6 separate regions of the Homo sapiens genome follow, and all the other regions are linked to region 4. Evidence: promoter capture Hi-C in 16 types of primary human blood cells and fetal thymus (Javierre and others, 2016). All regions are on one chromosome and are shown on one strand. The core of a region is centred on a gene start or on the middle of the fragment in contact, and the rest is flanking DNA. Distances in the headings are between cores, read along the strand shown.

Region 1 (3,643 bases), core at 184-2,683, 210 kb after region 4:
AATGGCAGCTCAGGACTGTGGTGCTCTTCAACAAAAGGAAAAAATCCAAGGGAGATCTATGACTACAGCAGCTAATTACATGGTGGCAGCTTCCAGACTGAATTAGAGCTCCGCGTTGGAGGTATCTTCAAAAGTTGAGAAAGTGGGAGAGAGAGGGAGAGCAAGCGAGAGTGAGAAAATGAGAGAGCGAGCGAAGTGAGCGAGAGTGAGAGTGAGAGCGAGTGAGAGAGCACGCACACAAATTTTGGGGCGGGCAAGGTAGCTAGAATTGTAGGGTAGAGTGCTAGTGAGGAATATGCTGAACAGAGAGCTGAAGAGTTAGAAGAGGGGTCGCTATGAGATATGAATTATAAATAAACGACAAGCTGGACACTTCATCAAAATTTAAAAATCTTACTATTCAAAAAACTGTTTAAAATATGAAAAGGTAAGTCACAGGCCAGGACACAATGCCTACAAAACATATCTGATAATAAAGTTGGAGTTGTATCCAGAATATATAACTCTCCAAATTAATGAGAAAGACAATTAATTTTTTAAAGTGGGAATGTGTAAATGATTGAGGTGTTTCATTAAGGAAGATATAACACATGGCAAATAAGCACTTGAAAAGATGTCAACATTACTAGCCCTCAGGGCAGTGCAAATTAAAACCACAATGAGATTCCACTACATATCTACAAAATGCTAAAATTAAGAAGTGTTGGCAAAGGATAAGAAACAACTGGAACTCCTATACAATGCAAAATGGTACAAACACTTTGTAAACAGTTTGGTGGTTTCTTACAATAGTAAACACATAATTACCATACAACCCAGTGATTCCATTCCTAGGTATTTACCAAAGAGAACTGAACATATAAATGCATGAAAAGACTTAAACTCAAATGTTTACAGAAGCTTTATTCCTAACAGCCAAAACTGGAAACAATCCAGAGAGAATCAGATGAATTTAGGAATTCTATAAAACAACAACAGAAGCTCTAAAAAATGCTAAGAATGATAAACTGTGGTTTAAGACAACTACGAAGGTTAGGAAATTAAATTGAGAATGGAGAGGAATATGGAAACGTTCAAAATATTTTACACCAGTTACATCAATCATATCACACTGATTACGGAGATGACAACCTGAAAAAGGATACAGTTATTAGAGATATGAGATTTGGGCTGGGCATGGTAGCTTATGCCTGTAATCCCAGCACTTTCAGAGGCTGAGACAGGTGGGTCACTTGAGGCCAGGAGTTTGAGACCAGCCTGGCAACATGGTGAAACCCTGTCTCTGACTACAAATACAAAAATTAGCCAGGCATGGTGGCAGGTGCCTGTAATCCCAGCTACTTGGAAGGCTGAGGCATGAGAATCGCTTGAGCCAGTGAAGCAGAGGCTATAGTGAGCCAACATCGTGGCACTGCACTCCAGCCTGGGCGACACAGCGAGACCTGTCTCAATTAAAAAAAAGAGAGAGAGAGGAGACGAGATTTAGAAATTCAACTGTACACAGGACGTAAAAAATAACAAAAAACTGAAAGTACTCTCTATAACTGGGCCAGTTCTTGTCAATTTGCCATCCCATATCCATTAATCATGGAATTATCAGAGAATGAAGGGGCAAAATGCCCTTAAAAGAAGGTCATTTTGAAAATTCACACTCAATTTTTGATGCCTTCAAGAATGATAATAAATTGAGGAGTTCCATGTGAATCATTTGCTTAAAATATTTGGCCTTAAGGAAATATGCTGAAGAACTTGGAATAAATTCATTTGACTTGCTGGAGGCCACATCATGCAAAAGTGATGCAGAAATTCTAATAATGATGAGTTTAGTAAGTTCCTATCAGAATGACATTAAATTTGAAAAGGTTCTGAAAATAAAACACAGCAACATTATGGATGATCCCCTAAGAGAAAAAAAGCAAAGAGCTTTTCAAAATAGTCAAAGCAAGTGCTTACAAAATTAAGCTTTATACAACAATATATATTCCTTTTCTTTCTTGTTTCGCTCTTGTCGCCCAGGCTGGAGTACAATGGAGCAATCTTGGCTCACCGCAACCTCCGCCTCCCTGATTCAAGCGATTCTCCTGCCTCAGCCTCCCAAGTAGCTGGGATTACAGGCATGTGCCACCACGCCTGGCTAATTTTTGTATTTTTAGTAGAGACGGGTTTTCTCCACGTTGGTCAGGCTGGTTTTCAACTGACCTCAGGTGATGCGCACGCCTTGACCTCCCAAAGTGTTGGGATTACAGCTGTAAGCTACCACACCCGGCCATATTCCTTTTATTTCTAAGGAGTTAAACATAAATGTAACTGATGTAGAGAGCCTGCCAATGCAACACATGTAACACTATTCGTGGCCAAACTGATCAAGTCAACCAAATACATCCTCTTAAGGAGGCTGTAGTTAGTATAATGGCTTAACAGACAAGTTTTTATAAATGTACTTACGGCAACAGTGCACAGATGGTGACTTTAAAAGAACACGGAATGAATGGCAAAAGTATTGTCAGTTGTTACGTTCTGAAAATTACTGCTGTTATAAGAGAGGTGGGTTGTTTTGTTTTGTTTTGTTTTGTTTGATCAACTGGTTTTGTGTTTTGGCTAATTCATTTATCCCAAGAAAAACACCCTTAATTTCCAGAAGAAAACAAAAATGCAATAGGATTATGCACTATTGCCATCTTGCAAACTTCTTCTATAAAGGGTCAGGTAAAAATTTTTGGCTTTGCAAGCCATTCAGTGCTGCAGTTATTCAACTCTTCCCTTGTAGAGCAGCCATAGACAATATGTAAATAAACAAGCACTGCTGTGTCCTAACAAAACTTTATTTATAAAAGCAAGCGCATGCCAGGCGCAGTAGCTCATGCCTGTAATCCTAGCACTTTGGGAGGCCGAGGCGAGTAAACCACTTGAGCCCAGGAGATTGAGACCAGCCTGGGCAACATGGCAAAATCTCATCTCTACAAAAATACAAAAATTAGCCGGGCGTGCTGGCATACACCTGTCTTAGCTATTCGGGAGGCTGAAGCAAGAGGATCCCTTGAGCCCAGGAGGTAGAGGTTGCAGTGAGCCAAGACTGTGCCACTGTGCTCCAGCCTGGGCAGTAAGAGAGAGAGCCTGTCTTATACAACAATAACAACAACAACAAAAATGAATAAACAAAAGTGAGAGGCAAACTGAACCTGGCCCTGAGGTGGTAGTTTGTTAACCCTTGTTATAAGTATACTACAACACAGTAATTTGTTATGGTCAGCATGACCAGAGAGAAGATTTTTGTTATGATTTTAAATATACTAACATGTTATTAATTTTATACATGCTTTGCCCTCAGAAACTTTGTCACAACCTGCTACAACTTGAAATGTATATCTCTTTGAACACTTTTGTACTTTTTTCACATAATAACAAATGTTAAAAATGTTTGCTGCATTTTGCAAAAGTCTGTATATTCCTGTCTATGCAGTGTAGTACACGTTTCAATAAAACCCTGTAATTGTAGTGGTATATAGTCCCTGACATTTCAAGCAGCAAAATAAACAGTATATACAGCTCACAAATTATAAACACAAACTGACACACATGAGACTGGCTAAAATAAAAATACCAAATGTTGGTGAGAATATGAAATTACTGGAACTCTCAATGG
Region 2 (3,667 bases), core at 326-2,825, 230 kb after region 4:
TTTGATGACAAGTGAAGGAAGTAAATCAAAGCAATTTTATGTTGAATTCAAGGCTACTGTCATTTTAGGAGGATGAGCATTTATTTTGCTTCTCTTCTCAAGTCTGGGATTGCTAAGTAGCACAGAGTAGTGGTGTAGCATTGAGCTTCAAAGATCAAAGTGTGGGGGAACACATCATGATGTATGGCTTCCTTACATGTAGAAGAATGGCAGATACAAATAACAGTAATGATTTTTATTTGCAAAGCACTTTACAATTTACAAAGTACTTTCACATCTATTATCTAACGCAAGCCCCAAACTAACCCTATGAGGTATGAAGGGATCAATATTTCCTTCTAGGAGAAATTAAGCATTTAGAGAAGTGACTTGCCCTCATTTACAAAACTACTTAATTAGAAACAGAAGCCTACATTTTTTTATTCTCAGTTCCAACTTCATTTTTACTATATGATGCCCTTTTGTCATGCAAATTTTGAAGAAAGGCCAAATGACTCGTTTACAGCCATAAGAAATGTCTACAATATTTCCAAGGTCTGCAACATAATATTAATAATATATAAATTTAATATAAATACTTAATATTTTTTTCTTCAACCTGAAATGAAAAAAATTACACAAAAGTCAACACACAAAATGATTTATGAGGACTTCAAAAAATCTCAATGCCACAGTTTTCCCATTCTTAAATTTCCCAAAATTTGCTCATGTAACAATACATTTTGGCTTGCTGGTAATTTCACCAACAACTATGAAACAAAAACATACTCAGTGAAATTAAAACAATTCCTATACCAAGTCAACATGCAGATTTTTCAAACAAACCTGAAAAGCTGAGGAAACCCTCCTAGAAACCACTCCACCATCTGGGCCATCTGGGAGTCTAACCCTGCTGCTTCATTTTCAAGTTCAAGGAGGTGGGCAATGCATTTACGGTAAAAAAAAATTCAAGTTTTCCCAATCCTTAAAATACTGAGACCATTATTCAAGTAAAAAGTAAAAGCCATTATAAAAGGCTTGAAAAGAATTTATCCAGCAATAAAGCTTAAAGAAAACCTTTTCCAAAATGGAATTTTGAGTAAGAGTCAATAGGCCCGTGAAAAAAACGCAAATATCCAATCTAGTGTCAGGATAATGCTCTCACTAAAGTTGAGCACACTAGTCCATTTGTAATTGCTTTTCTACTCTAAGAAGGGGGAAAAAACCACTTTCACTGAAATCACTGCATTAAAAAATACAACTAGTTTACAAATATAACATCAGTATAATCCTACTTTAAAATTTACTATGAAATAATTTCAACATAATCACCAAAAGTATATGTTTCCTCTGATACCAGTCACATGCCATATAAAGTTAAATGAGCTATCCCGCCAACGCCATGGTAACTGAATCTAAAAATACATTTTTTTTGAAGTCAGACTGGTATTTAAACTAAATGTCATCAAATGTTGCATTAAATATGCCAGGATGAAAAGTTCAGTTAAACATGAACTTTCCAAATATATCACACAGAAAACACCCCCAGCCACTAAAGGGGACACTACTGTGTCCAGGAGCATCTCCTCTCTCCCAACACATACACACACAACAAAATAAGATCAAACCTGCTGATTTAATATCAATTTTTCAACAAAAATTAAGTGTTTAAAATTGCCATATTTTCTAAACTAAAAATTCATAAGCAAACTGCAAATGTGAACAGGTTACATTCTCTAACATGTATGAAAAAAGGTAAATTTTGGTTTTTTAGATCTGTACCACTTAAAGGGAAAATGTATACAATACAACCATTTTTCAGAATCTAACAGAAAAGGTTTCCCATTTGAAATGGCAATTTAACCAAGCCATTTCTAACATAACTTGCAATTTCAGTATGAGTTCTAAATTTTGAAGCAGCTTAGAATAAAATTTGCTAACACTAAACATAAAGAGCAAGCAAGGTTTTGGGAAAAACCCAGAATCTGAAGTTTGAATGTTTATGTAATGCTTAGTCACTTAAAATAAAAAAGTTTAAATAGAACACAACTGAGGTTAAAATCAAGTTGATGTCTAAAGCCTAAAATCATAAGAACACTGGCATCATGATGGAAAACCAAAGCTTATCTGCCTGCTTTATAAATATCCATGTCCTTTCTTGGATTCAGAAATCCACTTTAACCCATGTCCCCTGGGTTTCTTCCATCTTCCATCTCACTGAACACCACTGTCGCATTCAGATTACAACCTCTAGCCAAAGGCAGAGATCAAGTAAGTCCCTTGAAGACTTCCAGAACATTTCCAGAACAGCAGAAAAGTAGAGGAAATACTCTCGTGCCTGGAGCTGCCGGAATTCCTTCTCTCCTTTTAGAAAAATAAACCTCTTGCTCTAAAGATAATCACTTTTAAGAACAAACATCACTACTACATACAAACACACATAACTCTCAATAATAATTCTATAGAAGAATTATAAAATCCTATAGGTTTTTCTAGTACTTTGGCAGGAAAAAAAAAAAAGACCATTAAGAACTGTATGCCAAAGGATTTTTTTTCCAGAGAGAAAATAGCAATAAGAGACTTAAGTGTTTTCCCTTCTCCTCTTCAAATGTGGATTCCTTAGCACTAACTGAAAGAATACTTTTCAAAAATAACTAGTTGATTCCATTTAACCACAAAGAAAATGTCTCAACTACCTTGTATTTTAAAAAAACAATCTGTATACTACGGTATACTTTCTGACTCAGTTGCTTATGACCGACACCCTTCTCCCTGATGTTCTAATATTTCAGAAGTCTTTGAATAGAAAGAACAGACAATATTAAAGACACATTTTTGTATATAGTCACCATTATAAAATGGACAGCCAACAGCCTATCACTGAATTACTTTTTAGCTTAAGCACATTTTGCTGTAAAAGAGAAATCTAACAATTCAGATATTCTAAATATAGACATAACACAAAGGCATGGGCAAAAGTACTACACGATTACTTCTACGCACACATATCTTTAGATCTCTGTGAAGCATGGCACAAAAAGTAGCTCAGTTTTTCATAAATTGTATAATTTGATTGCACTTTTGCTTCATGGTTCACTGTAAAATTCTAAAATTAATGTTTATGTGTTCACATTATTCACCCTACTGAGAATTCTCTCAAGAGAATAAAACACAGAACATTTGGCTTTCTAAATGACAGTGTTGAAACTTGCAGTGTAGTTATGCTTTGGCATACATAAAAAGTAATTTCTAAAACCTTTTCATTTATATTTTACTATTCCGTTAGAAGAAATCAATTGCATATGAAGCCCAAATAGCTGGAAAGAGCCCAGAAAGTGACAAGAAAGTGATGACTTTTTAAAATGCTGACGCTTTTCACACTCAGGTTCAGTCATGCCAGCTGGAAAGAGGTGTTAGATATGGCTTTATTCATTTTAAATCTGAGAACTGTAGTCATTTCCAAGACATTTCAAAAATTGAGAGCAAGAGCAATTTGTCTTCATGATCTTGAGTCTTCTAATTCACAAGCACTTTTGAAAACCATTTCTACAAACTTAGAAGGTATCCATACGAATAATTTGTATGCTATTGTTTAGAGTCAAAGTATTCTGTCCCAGATTTCCTAGTGAATTAGGAATACTTAGAGATAAAATACACACACACACACACACACACACACACACACACA
Region 3 (3,255 bases), core at 728-3,227, 140 kb after region 4:
TGAAGCCTGGCATTATTAGTGTTTGTTAAACTTAATGTTTGGGAACCATCAAAGGCTAAAGAAATACACAAAGGAAAAAAAATTTATCCAGAGCTTACTATATATACTAGATATTTTCATGTAAATAATTTTACCTATTAAATTGTTTTTAATTTAATTTAATTTAATTTGTTTTTAATCTTCACAGTGTTTCATCAGGTAGAAATTATTTTCCAAGGAAGGAAACTGGTATTTAGGGAGATAAGGCAGCTAGCTCAGGGTGAAGCAACCACTAAACCACAGAGCAAGGATTTGAATGTAGGTGTTTGCATTTCCAAAGTTCATATTCTTTCCATTCCACCACATAGCTTAAAGAAGATTTGGGAGAATGCCCTCTCTCTGCCTTCCCTTCTAATTCTTATGTCATTTTAACAGTAGATTATCCAGCTGTCTTGTTAAAATCAAGTTCTTCACAATATTGAAAGTATAGTACTTTAAACTGGACAAGTAAACCACTTGTAGATACTGATCAAGATAAAATTGTCATGAAGATTGGGTCTTATCCAGTCATTGTTTTTTAGGTAACATCCCTAAGGGTTCACTTTGTGCTTTCCTCTAAGAAAGAATAAGACTAGGCCATTTGGGAAATTTTATGATGTGGCTTTGGAATGATTCTTCTAGAAGATAATCCTAGTAGGTAAATTGCTCAAGGAGTGTGCCTGCTTTGGCACACAGCAGACATGGATTTTGTTCTCATGCAGCTTACAGTCTGAAGGGTGAGACGTAGATTAATCAAGTAATAACAACGAGAAACTGAGATGAGTATGATGAAAAAGAAGGACATGCTGCTGTGAGAGCATGTAACAGAGAAACCTGGTCTAGTTTAGTGGGTCCCTGGAGGCTTCCCAGAAGAAGGGACATTTGAATTGGGCTTTGAAGAATGAATAGGAGTTAACTCAAAGAAGACTGGGATGGGAGAGTGTTGCATACAGAAGGAACAGCATGTGCAGAGACCTTGTGTTGCTGTTGGGGAATTTGGCTCAATTGAAGAAGCAGAAGTCCAGAATGTGTGGAATGTGGTGAGCACTGAGTGGCAGAAGTGGAGAGACTGGGGAATGATGTGAATTAAAGCTGGATGACTCAGTCCCAGACCTGGAGGCCGTTGTTTGGATTTTGGTCTTAGAACCCTAAGCACAGTGTTAAGTCTTGATGGGTTCTTAGGAGAATAGTGACAAGATCAGACTTTATTTGTGAAGGTTAGTCTTTCTATAGTGTGAAGAACAGGAGGTAGGGATAGGTGTGAGCATTGACAAGATCAGTTAGAAGGCATATAGTTTACAGTAATGTATTGTACATTTCAAACTGGCTAGAAGAGTTCAAATGGTTCTAGCATAAAGAAAGGACAAATATTTAAGATGATGGGTATCCTAAGTTCACTGATTTGATCTTTATAAATTACATGGGTATATTAAATTATCACACGAACCCCGGAACTATGTACATCTATTATGCCTCAGTTAAAAAAGGGCTACTGAAGACTACTAACCCAGGCAAGAGACATTGATAGTATTGCTACTGGAGGCAGGGAAGAAGAAAGGGGGAGACCAGAAGAGAACAGATGGGAGGAATATAAAGGAAGCAAAATTGGTGTATTGAATATATAGAAAGAAGAGTGATGTTTCAAGGATATCTCAGCTCCTAGGGTTTTTAGCTGGAGCATTGGGGGAAAAGGAAAAGGTTATGAATTTCTTATGGTGTGACATAGTTTATGAGTCTAAAATTAAGACAGTCTTCTGTGTGTCTCACTATTTCTACTGATATTTAATAATTTTAGCCTTATTCAGTGTATTATTGAAAGGGCAAAGCTTTCATTCACAATAATAGGCGGGTTATAGAGATGAACTATCTTTCTTGTCTTTGATGATGTGTTCTATTGGGGCTTAATCTGGTCACGTCTCTTGTTGCCGCGGACCATTTACCACCTGCTAGAGTGGTAAATGGCTATGGTCCAGTGGCAGTAATCATGAAAGGAACCGTTTATGGCCACTCGTTGCCAGGCTTTACTCTATAGTGACTCCTCTCTTGTGTCATTGCATTGACCTCCCTGAAAGGCCTGTGTCCCGAAGCTTTTAAAAATGAAGTTATTTTATGGCCGAGACAAGATTCAGATTAGGTCCCTTTAGATTATGAATAGGTTATATACCATTTGCACAGTATATTCTGTGCAGCAGGGACTGTTGTCAGTATATTTACATGTATTATTTAATTAAATTCCCCTGGCAACTCAGTTACTGTACATAGAACACTGAAGCTCAGAGAGGTTAAATAACAGGTGCCATTCACAGATACCTTGCTAGGAAAAGGTGAAGTTAGAATCAGGACTCCAGTGTCCTGATGAATGACCTAGTTAGTACTTGTGGTCTCATTTCTTCTTAAGGAGGTTTTGGTATAATCCTTAGAACTGCAGCCTTAGCCAAACAGCTTCTGTTTTCTGGAATAAATTTGATAGCTAACCTTTTTTAAGCATTAATTTCTTTTTTGGCCTCTGATCTGTCTCCTCTTCCTACTGCTTATTTCAGCTACATGTGTCCTCTTGAATATGATTTAGTGAGCACTCAGACTGAGTTATATGACTTAACTATAGACTAAAAAGTAAAAATTGTTCATCCCTCAGAACTGTTTCAGTTGGTCCCTAAAAGCAGTTTACTTCTTCAGCATACATTTGAATGCGTTGTCTCAAACAGGAGATTTAGAACTTGGCATTCAGAGAAGACCTAGCCTCTGCCCCAGTGACTGCCTGGGGTAGGACCAGATAATTGAATAAACACAATGCAATATGATGCAAGTATAACATGGGTTGGGCAAAAGAGAGAACAGCAAGTCTGGGAGACTTTGTAGGGGAGGTGATAATTGATCCTGTTCTCAAGGGTGAGTTGCAGTTGGTCATCCAGAGAAGGAGGGAGTGAAATCATTCTGAATAGCAGAAGTGGTTACAAAAAAAGGAGTGGTAATGTGAAAAAGCTCCATTTGTTTTGGGTACTGTGTAAAAGTGCCATGGTGATTTTGTGCCCTTGTTCTACTTTAGAAATTTTTTTCATTTATAAATGAATAAGTTGTTGTTATTATTATTATTATTGAGACATGATCTCTCTCTGTTGCCCAGCCTGGAGTGCAGTGGTGTGATCATGGCTCACTGCAGCCTCGACCTCCTGGGCTCAAGTGATCCTCCCACCTCAGCCTCCTGAGGAGCTGGGACTACAGGCATGCACCACCATA
Region 4 (3,309 bases), core at 260-2,759:
CTGAGCTGATTGATAAGGATACCCAGGATTTTTTTCAGGAGGGTCAAGGAAGGTGTGAGTGGTCAGAGGTGGGGAGAGGGTTTAGAAAGGGATTTGCGGCCTGGCATCTGTCTCAGGAGACTCAGGCTCCTACACACCTGGGCATACTCTGGAAACAACAGTACTGTAGTTCTGTGTGGCTGGAGGGTCACATTGGCCTGAAGGAGGGGCAAAGGGAAGGGCGTGCACCTTGAAGCTTAAGGCCAGATCACCAAGGCCTTTTCAGTTGAAATTGGGTTTTTTACACTTTATTCTGTGAATGAAACAGAGCTGTTAAAATATTTGAGCCTGGTGTGTTAGAAAGATGAAAAGGGGCCCCAAGGGGGCTGTTGTGGGGAGTCCCTCCTCAACCCCTGGGCTGTTCAAGGTCCTCTGTCTTGGCACTGAGTGGTCAGGTCGTTTCTGCTCCAGGCTGGGAATTGTCTTAGGGCAAAGACATTGTCTCATTTGCCAGTGCATCCCTGCAGCCTGCAAACCCCCCGGTATACAGCAGGGACTGTATACTGGCAAGCAGAATGCTGGGCACCAAGAACTTGAGGCCAGGGACTGTAGAATAGAAAGCGAACCTTTAATTCTTCCCCAGCGCCGCCCCTGGCACAGAGCTGGTAGGTGTTCAGCCAAAGTCTGACCCAACCATAAGGAGGTCAGAGAGGTCCTGGGCCCAAACTCAATCCCAGCGAGGTTCATTATAGGCAGGTGAAGGAGAGGTGATTGTAGCAGCTTCTGTTCAGCGACTGCTGTGTGCCAGGATTCACACCTATTGTCTTATGCCATCTCCCCAACAGCTCCTAAATTGGAATTATTGTCCCAGTTTTCCTGATGAGGAAACTGAGGCTCAGAACGGTTCTTGGTAACTTGGCCAAGGTCACACAGCCAGCAAGTAGGTGGGCGGTGGCACAAGTCAAAGCCTACTGGCCTGCCCCTCTACCTCGGGAGGCAGTGCGACGCCTACTCCATTTGTGTGGCTGCTGGGGTTGGGGGGCATCCCGCACTGGGGTGCGGGGCCCGGGGAAGGCGGCTAGCCGCCGCGGCTCGGCGCAGCTCCCAGGTTCGGAAGTTACGAAGTTTCCGTGCATTTCGCTAGCCTCCCAGCGCAGCTCGTCTCCGCTCCGCCGCAGTTACGCCGCTAGCGCAGCGGGGCTCAGGTGCTGCAGCGAGCGGGGGCCTGGGGCCGGGAGGAAGGCGGGGACGCAGTTTACGTAAGCGTCCGCTGGCAGGTGCATAAGGCCGCCGGCGGCGAGTGCTCCCTGCGCGCTCCCAGGTGCGCACTTGGCGCAGGCGGCGGCACAGCAAGGCGGCGGCGGGCGCTGGCCGGCGCTCTCAGGTGCGGCAGGACGCGCGTGGAGGGGGCGCGCGGCGAACGAGGGGGCGGGCTTTCCGTTCCCCAGCAGCCGCGGGGCCCGCCCCCTGGCCTGGCCAATGGGCGCGCTCGACGGTGTCACGTGCTCGCTGCCGCCGCTGCCGCCGCCGAAGCGGAGACCGGAGCCGCGAGCGCCACCAGGGCAGCAGCCGCCGCAGCCGCCGCCGCTGGGCAGAGGAGCCGGAGACGCGAGCGGGCGAGGTGGCGGCGGCGGCGGAGCGGGAGCGGGTACCGGGCGCGGGCAGAGCGCGGCGGCGCGGGTAGGCTCCGGCGGCGGGGCGGGCGCCTGCGCGGCGGGCCGTCCCGGGCGGGCGGCGGTTAAGGCGGCGGTTGAGGCGGTTGGCGGAGCCGGCCCGGGCCCCGCATTGTTTGTTGTGCGTCCTTAGCAGCGGCGGCGGCGGTGGCGGCCGAGGCGGAGAGCAGGGAGCAATCCCGGCCCCGCGGCTCCGGCATTGTGGCCGCCGCCGCCGCCGCTGCGGTGCCCCGGCCGCTTCGGGCAAGGGCAGCGGGCAGCCTTCCTCACCTTCGCGGGGACGGGGTCCCGGCCGATCAGGGGAGGGCGTGGGCAGGGTTGGGGGACGCGGTGCCGGGAGGTCTTCCGGGACGGAGGGCTCGGGGCTCGGGGCAGGTGTTGGAGGACATTGGGGGCAGGAGCTGGGGAGAGGCTTCGGGGGGCAGGCGGAAGGTGTGGGCAGATTTGGGGGTAAATAGGGGTGCAGAGGGATCCGGCCCAATGGAGGAGGAGAGCCTTCAGGCAGGTTTGGGGGGCCCCCTGGGCCAGGCGAGTGCGAGATGGAGGACATTCCGTCCGGTGGGGGGGGGCACTATATTGTGGGGTTCAAGAGGGAATGAGGGGGCTTTTGGGGAGGGCAGGGACGAGTGGGGTGGGAATGGAGGGAGAAGACTGGGGACTCGAGCAGGACTGGAAGGAGCGCTGCGTGCCAGGGGCAGGGAGTGGGGCGGGTATTAGGAAGGCCACCGGGACGCCCGTGAAGGGGAACGATGGAGGAGGGGGTCGGGGCAGGGGGAAGTGAGGGCAGGCAGGGAGCGCCTGAAAGGGAGGGAGGGGAGCAGGGTGCCTAGGCTTCTGGGGTGATAGGGAAATGAAGGGTAGGCCCAGGGGCTCCAGGAGACCTGCGAGGGGTGTGAGGGAGTGTGTGGCCAGGTGTATAGGGGAGCCTGCAGGGAGGCGGGAGGGGGTTGACATGTAAGGATAAAAAGGCAGGTATCTGGTGCTCAGGGAAGAGGAGTATGGGGTGGAAGGGGGAAGTTCATTGGGGCAGAGACTTAGTTTGAGGGCTTGCAGAGAGAGGTGGGGACAGTAGGAGAAGGGTGATGGGGATGGAGAGCAGGAGGTGTGTGGGGCATTTAAAGGATAGCGGGAGAAGTGCGTGAAATGGAGGGTGTTTATGCAGGAAGTATGGAAGAAGGTGGGATCAGCAAGAGAGGGAATTTTGAGGTAGGACGGAGGGTGAGGGGTTCTTGGCAAGTGTTGGAGGACGTTAGGGGCAGGAGCTGGGGGAGAGGGACAGGTGTGGGGTGGCGTGGAGTGTGTGAGGTGGAGGGCAAAAGGGGGTGGGGAAAGGGAAGTGTTCTTGGAGTGGCAGGTAAAGTGTGGGGACAAATGGAAGGAAAGATTTCTGAGGCGGGAAGTGTGGAGCGGTTGGGGAGGAGGAAGGTGGAGGGGAGGGTGAGAACGAAATCAGTAGAGGGGGACAACGGGATAGACTGGAGGGGAAGGTGGACAGGTCTGGAGTACAGTAGGTGGAGGGAGGGAAGCACAGGTTTGGGGCACTGAATTTTGTGCTGTAGGGAGAAGGGAGGTAGGGAGAAAGAAGGAAGGTAGACAGGCTATTTTGGGGTAGAGGATGTAGAAGAATGCTTAATACCTATAGTGGAGTAAGGGAAGG
Region 5 (3,178 bases), core at 6-2,505, 190 kb after region 4:
CAAAGAGACCTTGTCTCTACACAAAATAAAAAAAAAAAATTAGCCAGGAAATGGTGGTGCATGCCTGTACTCGCAGCTACTTGAGAGGCTGACATGGGAGGATCGTTTGAGTCTGGGAGGTTGAGGCTGCAGTGAGCCATGACTGTGCCACTACATTCCAGCCAGGGTGACAGAGCAAGACCCTTCTCAAAAGACCAAATATCACAACAATGACAACAAAAGTAGCTATCTTTTTCCTAGACTGGCATGTGAGGCAAAATATTTCCAATTCTCACCTTGATTATCAGGAAGTACAGTTAACCCTTGAACAACACGAGTTAGGGGCACTGACGCCCTGCGCACCTGAAAATCCACGTGTAACTTCTGACTCCCCCAGAATTTACTTACTAATGGCTTACTATTTACCAGAAGCCATAATGAAAACATAAAGTCAATTAATACATATTTTGTACATTATAGGTATTATGTACTGAATTCCTACAATATAACAAGCTAGAGAAAATATTAAGAAAATCGTAAGGAAGAGAAAATATATTTACTATTCACTAAGTGGAAGTGGATCATCATAAAGGTCTTCATCCTGGTTGTCCTCATGATGGGTAGGCTGAGGAGGAGGAGGAAGAGGGGTTGGTCTTTCTGTCTCAAAGGTAGCAGAGGCAGAAGTGGAGGAGGCAGAGGTAGAAGGGGAGACAGGAGGCATAGTTGGTATAACTTTTATTGAAAAAAATCCACGTATAAGTGGACCCATGCGGTTCATACCATGTTGTTCAAAGGTCAACTGTACAACTGAGTAAACCAAGCCACAATTTACAAACATTTAAAAAATAATGGAAAGAGATTTCAGTGAGTTGCAGAGCAAAAGTTACCTTTGTAAATTCCACATGAAAAAGTTCAAAAGCTTGTTTCCAAACAAGCTTTTGGAACCACATATCATGAACCGCCCTTTCGAGGTCTAATGGACTCAAACCACAGATCCTCATGTGTACTCATACCTCACGCAAGCCACAGAATGCAGGGCTCAGGATGCACTTGCCAATGACTTCCTAATTTTGAACTGGCAAGTTACCACTGAATTATCACTTTGCCCATAACAGGTTCAACTATTGTGTGTATCTCTCTTAAAATTTTTTGGTATTAAGTATAGCTGCCAGAAGACAACAAATCATCACTAACTAAACTGTACATACCATAGCTCACCTTCTGGCAGAAAAATCCCATTCTCTTATGTTCTGGTGAATCTGTACTCTTTTCAGGCTATGAGCCGATTTCAAGAAAAACTACTATCTCACCTGAAATCATGTGCAAATAGGGGGAAACATCCAAAGTGTACCCCAAACATGCAAAGTTCTCCAGGTCTAGAAGGAATTATATATCTAAGCACAAAATATATGTGCTGTGCAGACACACTGAAGGCAGCCTTGTCAGACTTAACTCATTGAAGGCATAGGCAAGAAAAAAAAAGACATTAGATACCTCCTATCTGGACTTTCCCCACCTTTCCATATATGGAAATAAAGGATCCATATATTATTAAAGTGTTTCAAGCTAATGGGAATCCAAAAGGTAAAACTTCTGGCTGGAAACTATTAAGCTTTGCCCAAATCCATGTTAACTCTTCTTTGTAAAACACATGGTAGACACTCAACAGTGTATTTATTCATTCACTTATTCAATCGATATTTATAAGCGAGATCCTGTTCCTGGTACTGTGGATTCAGCAGTAAGCCAAAGAGATTGTCTCTTCTGCTGCACAGCCTCCATTCCAGTAGGGAAAAATAAGATAGGATAAGGACGTAATGGCATAAAGGTTGGGGGAGCTGCTACTTTAGATACTGCAATTTGAGAAGCTGTGGATATATGAGCCGAAGACTGGATGAGGGGACAGTGAAGCCATGCAGACATTCAGGAGAACATTACAAGCAGAGAGACTGACCAGTGCAAAGGTCTGAGAACAGCAAGGAGGCCAGCGTGTCTGAATTGGAAGGAGAAGGGGGAAACGTAGTAGGAGAAAGAATCAGAGTTTAAGGAAAAACTCTAAAATCCAATGAATCTTTATGTATAAAACCGTTCACATCACAACAACAAAAATTTAAACAAGAGTGGCGGGCCGGGTGTGGTGGCTCACACCTGTAATCCCAGCACTCTGGGAGGCTGAGGGGGGTGGACCACTTGAGGTCAGGAAGTTGAGACCAGCCTGGCCAACATGGCGAAACGCTGTCTCTACCAAAAATACAAAAAAGTGGCTGGGCATGGTGGTGCACCTGTAATCTCAGTTACTTGGGAGGTTGAAACAGGAGAATTACTTGAACCCGGGAGGCGGAGGTTGCAGTGAGCTGAGATTGCGCCACTGCACTCCGGCCTGGGTGACAAAGCGAGACCCTGTCTCAAAAAAAAAAAAAAAAAACAAAACAAAACAAAAAAACAAAAAAACAAACAACAACAACAAAAGCAAACAAATTTAAAAAAGAAACAAACAAGGGGGCACAGTTAAATAAACTGTAGCACAGTGAGGCAAATTCAAGCAGAGGAATTATATAACCATTTACAACTGATTATTTACACACAATATCTCAGTGAGGAAAATCCGTATAATTGCATGAAACAGGAAGAAAAATGATACTGACTGTATGAACTCAATTATTTAAGAATGCATAAAAAACATTTGGAAAGAAAAGGAGCAAAATTGAATGCAGGATGCCTCTGGATGGTGGAAACGTGAGTTTTCAGCAAAGGAGACATGCGATAGAGAAGAGCCAGGGAGGGAGCCACTGTGGAAACAGGAAAGGATGATGATGGTTAGATTAGGATGTTAATAATGAAGGTGGCGGTGATCAGAGTCAGGATATATTCTGACGACGAGCATAGATGTGGAGTGTGAGAAAGAGAGGAGTCAAGAGGACAGCAAGGTTTTTGGCCTGAGCAACCAGGTACCCCTAATTGAGATGGGGACACTGAGAAAGGGGATTTTGGAGGCAAAGAAATCATGAACAAAAAAGAGGCAGCATCCTCTTGTGTGCTGAACCAGGCTGAGGTGGGAAGAGTGACTCAAAGAATCTCAGAACTCACTTGGTTCTATCTATGCTTTGTGCAAACCTATTTTCTTTGAAAATATTACTGTAAAATGTTTGTTATCTACTTAACGATCAGGGAGGAAATAATTATAGTCGTAGCCATCATT
Region 6 (3,307 bases), core at 130-2,629, 170 kb after region 4:
AGGAGGGAACAAGACCATTCTGTTATGTTCTTAAAACTCAACCAGTCAGGGAAATAACCGGTTTAAAACTACACGTAAACAAAAGTTCGTAATTCTGAATCTGAAATACATACCAAAACATACTGTGGTTTTAAGTACCTACTATGTGCTGGGCACTGCCAGGCACTCTACAAACATGGTCTTTTTAAATCCTCGTAACAACCTTCCTAGGCAGGGATGATTTTCCTTCTTTTACAACTGAGAATAAGTGAAGCCACTTGTCAGTGCAGGGGCAGAGCCAGGATCTGAAACCAGGGTGCTTGCATTTGGGTTTGGGGGTGGGGGGCGGGTATACATTTTATCCAGACTAGGGGCTCCCAGATTACACAGCCCAATCCCAGGGTACTGGAACCTACCTGCTTATAGTCACCAATGATAGAACTGTTTTTTTTAATCTCAGATTCTGCCTTGTCGAGTTCCCGACGGCACATTTCTTTTAACTGCACACATAAAAAAACAAAAGGGACTATGTTAACAGAAAAATAAAGGAAGTTCTGCCACCAACCGCTTAGTGCTAGGCTTCCCAAAAACTGCTGAACCAAACCCTGGAAGTCCTCTAATTCAGCTACTTTCTTCCTTCAATCTTGGCAGCACTAATCCCCTGTTCCTGATGCAGGAGAGGGAGAGAACAGTTAAAACTTCCAAAAACGTCAGACCCCATTTCAGATTGAGGCTTCTGCTGAAGGTCTTCCCTGCCAGTACAAGCCAACCTGTGGACCTTCACTGACAGACCAGACACAAACCAAAGAGCTCATAAGAGGACTGCGGGTTTTCAGCATCTCATGGTTTCTGTAGAAAGGGCTTTGCAGTCTCTCACCCCAGCCAGTCCTGCCTCCTGGACGACCGTGGTGTGACAGGGGAGGGGACTGCTCCCAGGCGCACAGCACCCAGAGCTCTTCCCATGCCTGCAGGTCTGTGTCTCCAATGACTATGGAGCACTGGCTCAGAACAAGACTTCCCAAGCTTGCTCTATGAGGGAGACAGCAGAGGACAAGTAGGGAAACAGCCAGGCATTATATGATGTGTGCTTTCCTTCTGCAGGAATTCTACCCCCTCTTCTTTGTTATGCTCAGATGCTGATACACAGAAATTCTCCTGCCCCAACAAAGGATGGGCTTCAACCCACTGTCTCCTCCTAGACTTTAATTAGGAACCATTGGACTTTACACAGTAGGGGGAAAAAAAAAGTCTTTGGAAAGAAACTGAAGCCAGATGTCTCTAGGTTTTCTAGTGCCAACAGGAAGCCACCAGCTGAACTCCCAGTTCTCAAGCATTTGCAAGACAGAGGAATGTGGGAGAGTTCCCTTACCTGAGCAGACTCTTCTTCCAGCCGTCTTTTCTCTTCTTCTGCATCAATCAACTTCTGTTTGGTCATCAGCAGCTCCTTATTCAGAGCATCTGCCTTTTCCTCAGCCTGAAACATTTAAGATATGCTGTCACAAAACAAGAATTGGGAACTGCAAAGGATTTCCATTACTTAGCATAATCCCATTTTAAGATGATGGGGAAACTCTGATTCAGAGAGGGGAAATTATATCCCCAGGGTCACAATGAGAATACACTCATGCATAAGTGCCTGTCCCAGTCTCTTGCTCAGAGGTAGTGCAGGGCAGTAGTTAGGAGCTTAGCCTTTGGCATCAGACAGCCTGGACTCATCGCCCATTGTTCACTGACCATGTGCCACTTGGACAAGTCATTGAGAACCTCTCTAAGCTTCCGGCTCTTCATCTGAGGGATAAGGCAAGAAAAGCATTCAGCACAGTGCCTGGAATACAGTAAACACCAATAAAAGGTAGCCATCATTATTATTAATAAACTGGTTTTCTTCCTCCAAGCTGTGTTTCCTCTGCTTCATCCAACCCGTCTGGCATTTTTCTCTTGTTATTACCTGATAAAGGAGGCTGCCCCTTTCCTGGCACTTTTTCTTATCTTTAATGGCCACTCTCCACTCCAGTCTTTTTCTAAAGCATGCAAAAGGTCTAGTGGGCGTATCTGTGAGTTCTAGTGAAAATGATATACTTTTGCCTGACATACGAGTTCCTGGTGCTGGGCACTCCAAAGATAACTGAAGAAGGACTGACTATACCATATTAGAGAAGACTCAAGGACTAAATACAGAGGGTCTCTGCTGGGCTCCTGATATGGATAGGATTTCCCTGAAATTCTGACATCACCTAAAGTAGTGTAACTGGGCCACTGAGTTTTCCACTATACTCTATTTCCTTTCCTGTATCTTCTTTGGAAGAAACAGGTTCCAGAGAGCTGGGTCCTTAAATGGGGAACTGGGCCAGGTGCGGTGGCTCACGCCTGTAATCCCAGCACTTTGGGAGGCCAAGGTGGGCAGATCACAAGGTGAGGAATTTGAGAACAGCCTGGCCAACATAGTGAAACCCTGTTTCTACTAAAAATATACAAAAAATTAGCCGGGCGTGGTGGCAGGCGCCTGTAATCCCAGCTACCTGGGAGGCTAGGGCAGCAAAATAGCTTGAACCCAGGAGGCTGAGGTTGCAGTGAGCCAAGATCGCACCATTGCACTCCAGCCTGGGCAACAGTGCGAGACTCAGTCTCAAAAGAGAGAGAAAAAAAGGTGGAACTGAGAATGGCATGATACGCAGATTCAAAAGGCCATTAATTACTGGCAAACTGCAAATGCACGCAATTAAATTGCGTGACTCTTTTATCATTAGGAAATGTCCCTCTTTGTCCTTGGTAATACCCTTTGTCCTCGGTAATACCCTTTGTCCTGAAATCTACTTTATCTGACATTTCTATAGCCAGTCCAGTTTTCATGGTATTGTGTGGTATGTACATCTTTTTCCATCTGTTTACTTTGGTAAAAGAGTGACTCTTTTATCATTATGAAATGTCCCTCTTTGTCCTTGGTAATACCCTTTGAAGGTGTAACAATCCAAAATGTATGCAGAAATTCAAATTACATGAAACAAATCCCTACACAACTAAAAGGAGAAAAAGAAAAATGCACAGTTAGAGTCACAGAACCTTCTACTGTGCTCTCTCAGGAAGCGACAGAACAAGCAGAGAAAATCAAGTTGTTCTACATAAGACTTGAGCACTATCAACCAATTTGGCCTAATTGACACAGTACACTCCACTCACAACAGAACATACATACTTTCCAAGTGTATGTGGTACATTCACCCAAATAGATTATATGATAAGCCATAAAATAAGTAATGGTATATTCTAAAAGGATTAAAATCAGGCAGGATATAATCTCTGATCACAACAGAAATAAATGAAAAATAAC

Evidence for each region. The method cuts DNA at HindIII sites, captures the fragments that hold promoters and counts their contacts. A CHiCAGO score of 5 or more calls a contact.
Region 1: a fragment that was not itself captured here is called in contact with the fragment with the promoter of STRBP in region 4 in 3 of 17 cell types (naive B cells, activated CD4 T cells and total B cells); the score reaches 6.9 in naive B cells.
Region 2: a fragment that was not itself captured here is called in contact with the fragment with the promoter of STRBP in region 4 in 1 of 17 cell types (naive B cells); the score reaches 5.1 in naive B cells.
Region 3: a fragment that was not itself captured here is called in contact with the fragment with the promoter of STRBP in region 4 in 2 of 17 cell types (total B cells and naive B cells); the score reaches 6.6 in total B cells.
Region 5: a fragment that was not itself captured here is called in contact with the fragment with the promoter of STRBP in region 4 in 7 of 17 cell types (naive B cells, total B cells, naive CD4 T cells and 4 more); the score reaches 10.4 in naive B cells.
Region 6: a contact is called between a fragment that was not itself captured here and the fragment with the promoter of STRBP in region 4, in 2 of 17 cell types (naive B cells and total B cells). The highest score is 6.5, in naive B cells.

Annotation. Positions count from the first base shown.
Region 1 is chr9:123,060,614-123,064,256 of GRCh38, reverse strand. All of the region lies in intron 13 of RABGAP1 (RAB GTPase activating protein 1), which reads right to left. It also overlaps the pseudogene LOC100422501. Among named protein-coding and RNA genes, the nearest start is that of GPR21, 29 kb to the right of the region's middle. The HindIII fragment of the contact is 1,062 bases long and covers 903-1,964 here.
Region 2 is chr9:123,035,649-123,039,315 of GRCh38, reverse strand. All of the region lies in intron 13 of RABGAP1 (RAB GTPase activating protein 1), which reads right to left. It overlaps GPR21 (G protein-coupled receptor 21), which reads right to left. Exons shown (of 2, transcript NM_005294.3): 2 at 3,651-3,667. Among named protein-coding and RNA genes, the nearest start is that of GPR21, 3.8 kb to the right of the region's middle. The HindIII fragment of the contact is 1,057 bases long and covers 1,047-2,103 here.
Region 3 is chr9:123,129,217-123,132,471 of GRCh38, reverse strand. All of the region lies in intron 17 of STRBP (spermatid perinuclear RNA binding protein), which reads left to right. Among named protein-coding and RNA genes, the nearest start is that of MIR600HG, 15 kb to the right of the region's middle. The HindIII fragment of the contact is 261 bases long and covers 1,847-2,107 here.
Region 4 is chr9:123,266,786-123,270,094 of GRCh38, reverse strand. It overlaps STRBP (spermatid perinuclear RNA binding protein), which reads left to right and starts at 1,509. Exons shown (of 19, transcript NM_018387.5): 1 at 1,509-1,659. RefSeq lists silencers at 1,084-1,563, 1,734-1,783 and an enhancer at 1,183-1,683. The HindIII fragment of the contact is 5,570 bases long and covers 238-3,309 here.
Region 5 is chr9:123,078,466-123,081,643 of GRCh38, reverse strand. The region is part of intron 19 of RABGAP1 (RAB GTPase activating protein 1); the gene reads right to left. Among named protein-coding and RNA genes, the nearest start is that of MIR600, 32 kb to the left of the region's middle. The HindIII fragment of the contact is 677 bases long and covers 917-1,593 here.
Region 6 is chr9:123,095,887-123,099,193 of GRCh38, reverse strand. It overlaps RABGAP1 (RAB GTPase activating protein 1), which reads right to left. Exons shown (of 26, transcript NM_012197.4): 22 at 1,349-1,453; 23 at 396-479. Among named protein-coding and RNA genes, the nearest start is that of MIR600, 14 kb to the left of the region's middle. The HindIII fragment of the contact is 750 bases long and covers 1,005-1,754 here.